2 separate regions of the Homo sapiens genome follow, and region 2 is linked to region 1. Evidence: promoter capture Hi-C in 16 types of primary human blood cells and fetal thymus (Javierre and others, 2016). All regions are on one chromosome and are shown on one strand. Each heading gives the region's core, a stretch centred on a gene start or on the middle of the fragment in contact. The rest is flanking DNA. Distances are from core to core; before and after follow the strand shown. Region 1 holds the start of PTBP3 (polypyrimidine tract binding protein 3). Region 2 overlaps PTBP3 (polypyrimidine tract binding protein 3).

Region 1 (5,691 bases), core at 1,508-4,007:
AAAACCAGTGCTTGGATTTTACAGAAATAGAAGGCATCTTGCAAATCTGCATTTACCACCCAAAATTGCTCACCAAAATATAGTTAAGACAGTCTCTCAGAACTAAAATAAATACAAACATCACATTTCAGACATCAAAATTTTCAAAGATTTGCTTTTTAAAAATATTCTATCACGTCAAAACTGTGTTTAAGTATAAATTATCTCTTAGGAGGAAACGAACACACACACACACACACACACACACACACACACACACACACACGAGAGACAGTTGGGATTTGAGGAGGAACTAGAAAGATATGTTGACTGGTGGCTTGTGGTTTGTTTTTTAACTACCCAAATAAGGAAAAAGGATCTTTTTCAGGCTGTTGGAAAATGTAGAAATTTAATTAGTCTCCTGAAGGCAAAAATGCACTGTATTCTTAAACCACATCCCTTAAGACCAGGGTGTGAAAATCCCCTTTAAAGTCCTGCCATACAAAAATTCTTCTCTTCTAAGCCCCAAGAAACTGTCTTCGATTAATGTTTTTCTTCATATCTCCTAGAAGAAAGCTACGAATACATTCTACATATTGTTAATAACCTATGTCATCATTACCTCATAAAAGTCAACGAATAAATGACTCTAGATGATGTAAACTGTTTTTAAAATACCACGTAGATTTTTTATTTTTCCTTGTAAACTTCTGAAACTTGAAATTCATTTGTCTAAAATTTAAATGTGATAAGTAACTGGACGCTTGCTGCATAAAAAATAAAATGGTGTAACACTATGGTTATTGGTTCTGATACAAAGGGCAAATCATGCTCCGACTTGAACTTCCAAATGAACTTACCTTCCAGTCAGTATCTGTATAACTGCCTTGCATATTCAAACCAATAAACCCATTACTACCTTTAAAACCACAAATAGCGTGAAGGGAGAGTAAACTTCTTAAACACTATCAAAAAGTAAGTTTGCACTTCACAGTTATCCTACAGTTTAACAGCAAAGACGCAAAATTCAAGAGTCCTCTTTATTATAACTATACATTTTACGACACAAAAAAATAGCCTGCTTCCATTATTTAAGTCAAACCTTCCAGACAATTAACTACACATAATGAAATGCTAAATTCACAGCCTGCCTGAACCAAAATATTAGTGACACAAATCTTTACGACCACAAAATTTTTCAACATATAAAATGCAACTGAATAAGGTAATGTGAAATAAGTTTTCAACAATGTTCTCGAAGAAACTTCAATCAAACAATAAAAACAGCTTCAATTCCCCCCCAAAATATATACACCTACTGTGTACCCAAAAAAGTTATAATTTTAAGAAATTTTTTGAAGCTTCAATCAAATAAAAATAAAGAACATCACAATCATGAATAAAATCTAAAACTCCACTTTGATGTCTGTAGCAGTGTGCAATCTGCATTCAAATGAATCAATCCGAAATGTCATATACACTTAATATTGTGAAACTAAAATAAATGAAATCTAATGAGGTCAAAAGCTGTTGGAAGATTTCATCTTCAAATAGCATATCATCAACTGTATGGCAACATGTGAACGACTTTTACTGTTCTAGCAAGTTGCATATATTCCACAACCTCACAGAAATCTTGTCATCAAAAGTAGGTAACAAGCTAAAAAAAACCTCAAATACATAATGGGAATAAACCGAGTTGGAGATTTTTTTTTAATCCGTAGGTACAGATACTACAACCTTCAATTAATTCACCAAAATCCTAACATAGTTGTTACTTTAATTACCAAAATATGTCAAGTCCCACCCCATATCCCTGAGTCCCCAGAGAACAGTTTATATACATAGACTCTAAATCTTTTTATTTTGGTCACGGACCCCCATTAAATTTTTGAGCATTTGAAATGCCCCCGAAAATCGCTCGTACATCATATTTTACATACACGGGCAGATAATTCATTAAGTTTCTTGGGGAGAGAGAAAGGTGAGGGGGAAGCGTCCATGGTCACTAAGTCCAGACCCCTGGTGTCGAGAAAGCGTTAACGTATCTCACAGCACAAGTCGGGAGACCTCGGCCAAGTCCCGCGGCGGCCCTGGGACCCCGCGTGGGACCATGGCTTGCGACCAGGTCGCCGCCCAGACGTGTACCGACGCGTGCACCCGCCGTCGGCCGCTCGCCCCACCTCGCCGGTAAACAGCAACTCCCCCGGCAGGAGGACGCCCGCCCCGCGCGCCGCCTCCGCCTCCCCCAGCGCCGCGCACCATTTTCTGAGAGGAAGTGTCGGGAGGCCGAGCTGGGCTCCCCGGACTCGGGGCGCGGAGGGCGGACCTCGGCACCGCGGCCGGACCGGGCTTTCCTCTGCTCCCGGGTGTGTCGAGTAAGGCTAGGAAGCAGCGGACGTGTCCGGGGCGCCGCGTGGGGAAAGGAGAGCCTGCGGCGGACGGCAACTCCGCGATTCCGGGATCCCCACCGAGACGCCCGGAAGCCCCGCCGTCGGGCTTGGCCGGGGCCGCTCCTCCGGCCGCCGGCGCCGCGCACTGCTCCCCAGCCCTTACGCGTCCCGCGGAGAGCCGGGTGGAAGCGGCGCCAAGGCAACCCGGTGCGGCCGCCGCGCCGCCTAGTACTTACCCATCCATGGCCCAGATGGAGGCGCGCACAGAGCAGGGACTGACGGGCTAACCGCGAGCAGAGGAAGCAGGCGGCGGCAGCAGGGCGGTTCCGGGGACAAGCGAGCTTTGGCTCTGCGGAGCCCCGGCCGGTCCGAGGTGGAAGGAGAGTGGGAACAGGGGCGGGGACCGGGCACGCTCCCGCCACCGCCGCGCCCCCGCCTTCCCCACCCCGCGAGCGCGTCCCCGCCTAGCCCGACCCCGCCCCCTCACCGTCCCCGCCCTCCCTCGGGGCCCGCCCCTGCGCTCGCGCCCACCCTCGCCCCGCTGGCAGCCGGCCTCCGGCTCAGCTCTGGGGCGCCCTCTTCCCGCGGTCGCTGTAAGACCCCGCCTCTCGGCCCCTCGGCCCGGCGCGCGCGCGCGCCCCCAGCCTCCCTCCTGCGTTCGCGGGAGCGCGCGCCTTGTGCTTCCCGCTCCGCCGCGCACCCCGCCCGCCCTCCCGCGGCCCCGCGGGCCTTCCGGCTTCGCAGACCGGGCCTGCCAGGTTTGAATGCCTCCCTCTGCCGGCAGGAAAAGCTATGGGGACCTGACTCCCAAGAGTAGGAAGGAATGTCCCACAAGGACCCCAGAAACGAGGTGGAATTGCCCCGGGTGCGCGAGGCTGTAGATGACACGTCCAGGGACCAGCCTCTGGCAGCCCGGCGCTGGAGTCGACCGCTGGGACCGACACCAGCCCCATAGGTGTGGCTGGGACGATGAATGAGGTGAAAGAGGCTGCCCGGACTGGAATTTGTATACAATTTAAGTATCTGAGTGCATTTCGACCTAACCGTCTAGTATTGAATTTATATGAAAAATTCATTGTACAAACATGGAATGGCTATATTCCCAGCATTTTTTAAAAGTTTACTCATTATTCCCTTTTTTCAGATGAAAATACATATACAAAGAGAGTGATTTGCTCACAGTTTCACAACCAGGAAACGTTTGCACCAGAGCCCTTCCCTCTGGTCTGAGCAAAAAGTATATATATAATATAACGAGTGACAACACGCTTGCTTTTTTCCCTTTTTAGTGAGAAATTGAGTACTTTTTCAACTCACAGATCACCAAAATGTAACCCCCTAAACTGTTAAGCCAAATTCTTAACCTACTGAGTAAAAAAGAGCGGGGCTCCTCCCCGTGGCTTCGTCATTTGAAAAGCAACTAACAAGAACCTCAAACATCTATCCTTGCTAATTTCCTGCTTTCAGATCAGTAGGTGCTGCTAAAAAGATCTAAACTGTGGACTCATTCATCATTCAGTCAGTATTAACCTACTATGTGCCGGGCACTGCATGAATACACAAGAAAATCAGGTTCCAGCCGTCACTGTTGAATGGATTCTTCAGTCCGTTTATGTATATTTTTGACATACAACTTTTCAAATAGGTAGAGTAATTCGGTGAGGTAATTCTTAAAGTCCTGTATCTAACCTCAGTCCCCTTCCAAAATGTCAAATACATTTTGTTTTGTATATTAAATCTAAATATTAAGTTGCATTTGTAAACATTGCCAGATGGAAATGTAGAATATCAACAAGATAAGTAGCTGATGCAGTCTTTCTATCACTGTATTTGGGATATATTCTGTTGATGAAATTTCCTTAACCCTTTTTTTAGCTACACAAGTAATATCAGCATAAATGCTCATTTTGGAAAATTCAAGCACTATAAAATATTGAAAAGTTATCATTAATATTTTTCTTCCCAAACCACCCCCTGCCCATGACTACCACTGTAACAATTCTGCGTGCATCCTTCTGGACCTTACTTTTTTTTGTTGTTTGTTTTTTTGTTTTTTTGTTTTTTTGTTTTGAGACGGAGTCTTGCTCTGTCTCCCAGGCTGGAGTGCAGTGGCACAATCTGAGCTCACTGCAACCTCTGCCTCCCGAGTTCAAGTGATTCTCCTGCCTCAGCCTCCTGAGTAGCTGCGATTACAGGCGCCCGCCACCACGCCTGGCTAGTTTTTGTGTTTTTAGTAGAGACAGGGTTTCACCATGTTGGTCAGGCTGGTCTCGAACTCCTGACCTTGTGATCCACCCACCTCAGCCTCCCAAAGTGCTGGGATTACAGGTGTGAGCCACCGCACCCAGCGACCTTTACCATTTTTCTTTTTTTTTTTTTTTTTTTTCACCTAAAAATCCTGGATTATAGCTGGGCATGGTGGCTCACACCTGTAATCCCAGCACTTTGGGAGGCCGAGGCGGGCAGATCACTTAAGGTCAGGAGTTCGAAGCCAGCCTGGCCAACATGGTGAAACCCCCCATCTCTACTAAAAATAGGAAAATTAGTCTGGCTTGGTGGTGCACGCCTGTAATCCCAGCTACTCAGGAGGTTGAGACAGGAGAATCTCAACCCGGTAAGCAGAGGTTGCAGTGAGCCGAGATCACACCACTGCACTCCACCCTGTGTGACAAAGTGAGACTCCAGGCTGGAGTGCAGTGGCACAATCTCGGCTCACTGCAACCTCTGCCTCCCAGGCTCAAGCAATTCCCCTGCCTCAGCCTCTGGAGTAGCTGGGATTACAGGCACCTGCCACCCTGCCTGGCTAATTTTTGTATTTTTAGTAGAGACAGAGTTTCACCATGTTGGCCAGGCTGCTCTTGAACTCCTGACCTCAAGTGATCCACCCACCTCGGCCTCCCAAAGTGCTGGGATTATAGGCATGAACCACTATGCCCAGCCTCATAATTTCATTTCATAATTTAACCTTTTCCAAAACAGTGGAAATTACGTTGTTTCCAAGTATTCAAAATAACTAACACTATTGCAGAAAATATCATGAATGTATGAGTATCTTTGCACACATATTATTACATCTGAGGAATAGATCCCTAGAAGTAGAATTGAGAAACAAAGGACATAAGCCTTAATATCCTTTATATAATTCAACAATCCTTTATATAAAGCCTTTATAGCCTTTATAATTCAAATTTGATAAATTTTTTGAAAATGATTCCAAAAAGGCTGTACCAATTTACAGTTTCTTTATTTAAAAAAAAAAAAATTTGGCTGGGCATGGTGGCTCACACCTGTAAATCACAGCACTTTGGGAGGTCAAAGC
Region 2 (5,691 bases), core at 2,085-4,584, 83 kb before region 1:
AAGACAGAGAAAGACTATCTCAAAACAAAAAGTCTATGGATTAAAGGACTGTATAGATGTTAATTTCCTAACTTTGATAATTAAACTGTATTTAGTAAGAATGTCCTTGCTCTTAGTAAATACACAATGATTAATTTAGACATAAAGGGACATCATATCTGCAACTTACTCAAGTGGTTTGGAGGTGGGAGAAAATAAATATACACACACATGCATACACAAATATAGGTAGTGTATATATTATATATGTATATACATACATACACATAAATACTCAGATGATCTAAGTAAATATGGCATGATATTAACAATAGGGCAATCTGAATAACAGATACCCAGAAGTTCTTTGTACTACTCTTGCAACTTAATTTCAGACAAAATTTAATTGCAAAGTTTAAATTATTACTAAAACACCATAAACTTTAGAATATAAGTAAATATATTTATGACCTTATATCACAAAGGATTTCTTAAATAAGACACACAAAAAAGCACAAATGTAAAGGAAATAAGAAACAAACTTGACAACGTAAAAGTATCATTAAGAGAATAAATCAACAAGCCAAAACTGGGAGAAACTATTTGCAACCCATATAACAAACAATGGACTAGTATCTGGAATACATAATGAATTCCTACAACTAAGTAAGAAAAAAAGGAGAAATAAAACACAAAAACAGACAAAAGAATTGCACAGGGATGGGGGCGAGAGGTAAAAGACTACACACTGGGTACAGTGTACACTGCTTGGGTGATGGGTGCACCGAAATCTCAGAAATCACCACTAAAGAACTTATTCGTGTAATAAATAAATAAATAAAACAAAATGTATGAGAGGATAAATAATAAAAATATGTCCAACCTCATTAGTAATTAGGAAAATGCAAGTGAAAACTATGTTAAGATACCATTTACCACACACTAAAATAAAATTTTTTTTAACCTCACTCCTTTCAGTAGGAGATGGCTTAAAAAAATTATTTTAATCTCACAATGCAGTTATAAACTGGTGCAATCACTTTGAAAACTGGCATTATGTAATGAAACTGAAGAAATATGTTCTCTATGACCCAACAATTCCTTTCCTATGTACTTCTTAGAGAAAACTCTTGTCCAGCAGGAAAGAATGTTCATAGTAGCATCAAACTAAAACAACCAAACTATTTATCAACAATAAAATGGATAAACAAACCATGATCTATTATTCTTCCAATGGGATACTACAGACTTGACCGTACTGAGAATGAATGAGCAACAGCCACATGTATGAATATGGATGAATCACCAAAGACATACAGGGCAAATAAAGTCACAGAAGAAAACCAGCATGAGTCCATTTATGTAAGGTTCTAAATACAGCTTTAAAATTTTTCTAATGCTTTAAAGTATTGAATGCTTTAAAAAATTTTTAAGTTGCATTTAGGGATATATAATGAGTGGTAAAAAAACAACAGGAAAACAGAAAAGCAAGAGAATAATTATCAAATTTGGGACTGTGGTTATCTTGGGGGAAGGAGAGTGAACAAAAGTGATGAAGAAAGGTACACGGGGTGCTTCTTCAGTATGTATAAATATTTTATTTCTTAACCTGGGTGGTAGTCACATGGGTGTTTATATACTTACGTGTTTTATAAGCTTTTCTATAGGTATAACAAATGTCACTAAAAGTAAGGACATAGTGCTTATGACTCAGCCCTAGAAACTGTAAAGAGAAACCTTTAAAAGAGAAAGAACAGCCAGTGAAGTAGGAAGAAAGTAAGGAGAGTGGTGTTTCAGAGGCCAAAAGAAAAAAGAAGTGAATAGTGAAACTGTGTCAAATACTAGTGATAGGCAAAGTAGAGAAACTTTCACACAATATATAAAGTGCATTGTTCTCTCTCTGATGAATCACTTTTTCAGGATGTAGACATTATTTTGCAGTGACTAAGGATTTACTAATAACATTAATGAGAAAGGATATGAACATTCTGATATTTTATATTCAGAAATCAAAATTCTTAACATATTTTTAAAATGTCCTCCTCTCATAATACAGAACATTAATTGCACCAAGAGTATATAATCAATTATTAGAATAAGTGAATTCTTAAATTTGATAGCTGAGTTTTGGCAAACTTTAATTTGCCCCAGTATTTTTTTTTTTGCACCAAATATTTCTATCATTTGTTATTAAAATGGTAATGACAAAAGACCTTTGTCACTGCCAAATCAGATAAGTAAGTTAGGGGCTGGTAACAAATACAAAACACAAAAATTTGGTCAAAGAACCCAAAACAGACATTTTATCAATATTAGAAAGATGCATTGAATCATTCCCTTGGCTTTTTAAATTAAAAATAATAAAAAAGCTTTTACTTTAAAATAATGAACTATTTTTCAGAAGGGTTTGGACAATCATTTGGTTGTCTTAATTTTATAATTTGATTGTCTTAATTCTTTTAATTTTCTCACCTATAAAACATGATGAACTAAATACTACTTAAAGTCCCAATTAGCAATATTTTACGGTGTTATTTGGAAAAGGAAAAATCAATCACAAAAGGTAGTAATACTTTAAGTAATAAACCACACTTTTGAGAACTGTGAAACCAAAAGTAGCATATACTAACCTAATAAGATATTCAAACTGGGCCATCCATTGCTTTTTCCTTAAGAGGTTTACTTTAAATAAAAGAGGGAGGCTCTTCAAAGCTACAATTTGCAGAGACAATTTAGAAGGCTGTATTTTTACTAATGCAAAATGCAACTTCACACAAGCTTAAGATACAGCTGGAAGTTCTGAAGTTTAGGAAACAAAACAAAATAAATCCTCTTCTTTGAATAAAAGATCATACTATTAATTTAAGCTTGATATAAAATATCACTACTTAAAAAAGGAAAAGTATTTTTCTCAAGAGCATATATGGCAAAATTATTATGGCTATAAACTAGCATATTTAAGTTAATGTTAATAAGACTACTAATTTGAAGCAAATGGTTTGTGGCTTTTAAAGAATGAGTAATATCAATGTTAGAAAATAAATTTGTAACTCAATTTCAGATATTCATCTGTCAACTAACAGAACCTCCTAATATTAATATTTAATTAATGGGTATACTTTGTTCTAGGATTCTTGCTTTCCTTTATAAATCCTGAGAGAACTCGAGAAGAAAAAGGCTTATAAACATACATGGCTTAATAAATGAAACTTGTAACTTCAGAAAACTTGCTTTGTGACCCAAAAAAGAACTACTCACCAAAAGCAGCAGCCATAGGGGGTTCAAGGGATGGCTGGCCATCACCAGTAGGAAGGTCTAAGCGAGTGAAGTCTCTGCTTTTGTCATTATTATATTTCACATTAAGGCTGGTGAGCTTGGAGAAGTCAATGCGCAGAGTGCAGCATGCATTATAGATATTCTGGCCATCCAGAGCCTAAAGCATGTAAGAAAGGGACTGGTTTTGGCAAGACAACAACACTGATAACCAAGAAGCCTCTACTTTGACAAAGAGTGGCAATCAGGTGTAAGGCAGAAAGCACTGACTAAAAAGCCAAAGTCTTGGGTTTACTTTTACCTCACAGTCATTAACTATGAGCCTAAGAGAGAAAAAGAAAATCTCTAAGTCTCAGCTTTCATCTGTAAAATAAGACTGATAATATTTATCTTGTCTGTGGTAAGATCAAATAAGAGAGGAGAAATGTAAAAGATTGGAAAACTACTGTCTATCATAGAAATGTTCACTATTATTATGATTATTTTGCCTATATCAAAAGTTTTAAGATACTCTGATTTTACATTCCACTTTAATTCATTTTAGTATAATTCACATTATACTAGGATGTGTAAGCTTTGTTAGGATGAAACAAAGCTTTTGTAAATGGTACTTGTCAGAGCCACAATACATAAAATATTACCTACCACTTATTTTTTTCTCTTGTAAATTTACTTTGTAATACTTTGAATAATAAACTGAGGAAAATGTGGAGTCAGTTGTAACCAAAGATTAGCAACCCCTTCCTTTGCAAGAATAAAAATTTACCTAAGGGTATTTGTGGCCACTTAACGACTTTCACAAATGCTTGAATTTATAAAAATAGATACCAGAAAGCAAATCACATAAAAATAAAACATATATATATATATCCTGATTTATAATAATGGTAATTGACAAGTATGCCATCGTAAAGGTACAAAATAATATATGCATGTTCAGGGTACAGCAAATATAAAGGCTATACTCCCAATTGAGTGCCAGACACTGTGTGGTACACAAAAGTACCACAAGCCATAGTCCTCATCTTTGACCAAAAAGTAGAAATGACTAGCAAAAACTGCTACAAGATGAAATTAGAGTCAGGGATAGATATCAACAAGAGGTATGTCTAAGATAATCGAACTGAATGTCAAGTTTTATTCTTGTCAAAATAGGTTTTCGTGTACTAAAAAAAAAAAGACAACACGAATTGATAGCAGCATATTTCCTAAGATTTAGTATCTCCACCAATTTAGAGCTCAACAGGAATAAACATTGAATACAGCTGCAAAAATGGTGAAATCAATCTCTGACTGATTTAACAGAAGTAAATGGTCTACAGCCATACCACCCTGAATGCACCTGATCTCATCTGATCTCAGAAGTTAAGCAGGGTCGGGCCTGGTTAGTACTTGGATGGGAGAAGTAAATGAAAGCACGAGGGTAATGATGGCTCTATTAGTCAGCTTATGTGAGGAGTACTGTGTTCAATTCTAGACTTTAAACATGACAAACAGGACCTGCGTCTCAGAGATGTGAGAGGTGATAGGAGATTTGAGACCGTTTCATATGAAGTAGTAATGATTTTTAGCTTAGAAAAAAAAAACATGGAATCATACACTTTAAAACGACTAAAATGGTAAACATGTATATTTTGCCACAATTTTTTTAAAAACACATGGTAAAGTGGGGCACAAGAGAAGGTATCACTGGAGTGATTAACAATTGAAAAATGAAACAAAGATCATAATTACCATTTTGGCATAATGTGCATTTACTGGGTCAGCATACTGAAGCAAGGCTTGAAACTGATTATTCTTTGTAAAGGTGATAATCTTCAAGACTGTGCCAAATTTAGAAAATATCTGGAAAACAGTTCACATTAGGTTAAATGTAAAAGAAAAGTATTAAACTGATGTATCTTTATAAATACAACTTGTTCATAAATCCTTTTAAATGAAAATTTTCTCTTGAAAACTTTGGTACCAAAATGACTTAAGCCTAAAACATTAACATTTCAATACCCATGACTATCTTACAACAACGCCCGGTACACAACAGGCACTTAAATAACTAGCCTATTTTATGGGATATATAAATGGTACAGTATTAAAATAGGAGACTACAATAATCAATGGTATGAGATGTGTTACAAAGCATATGAATAAAAGTGGGAGTCATGGACCAACTATTTCACCCTGTGAAGAATCATCTACTTTTTGAGATTTCTGTAGCCACTAGAAGATGTTCAACTAGAGGCTGCTCTATTAATTCACCAAATATTTGGAAAGACAGCAGTAAACAAAACAGAGACAAAAGTCTATGCCCACATGCAGACAATAAACAAATGACAAATATCCTAATATCTGGTGATTTTTAGAAGTCTTACGAATAAAAATAAAAGAAGGGAAGGGGTGAGCACGAACCAGAATGCAAGATGAGACAGTGCAAGAGTGGTG

The links. The method cuts DNA at HindIII sites, captures the fragments that hold promoters and counts their contacts. A CHiCAGO score of 5 or more calls a contact.
Region 2: a contact is called between a fragment that was not itself captured here and the fragment with the promoter of PTBP3 in region 1, in 2 of 17 cell types (megakaryocytes and erythroblasts). The highest score is 6.6, in megakaryocytes.

The regions. Positions count from the first base shown.
Region 1 is chr9:112,330,862-112,336,552 of GRCh38, forward strand. PTBP3 (polypyrimidine tract binding protein 3) reads right to left here and starts at 2,758. Exons shown (of 14, transcript NM_001163788.4): 1 at 2,609-2,758. RefSeq lists silencers at 2,123-2,612, 2,763-3,082 and an enhancer at 2,832-3,802. The HindIII fragment of the contact is 11,957 bases long and covers 1,339-5,691 here.
Region 2 is chr9:112,247,692-112,253,382 of GRCh38, forward strand. PTBP3 (polypyrimidine tract binding protein 3) reads right to left here. Exons shown (of 14, transcript NM_001163788.4): 6 at 4,987-5,097; 7 at 3,238-3,412. It also overlaps the pseudogene RNA5SP295. Among named protein-coding and RNA genes, the nearest start is that of SUSD1, 75 kb to the left of the region's middle. The HindIII fragment of the contact is 980 bases long and covers 2,845-3,824 here.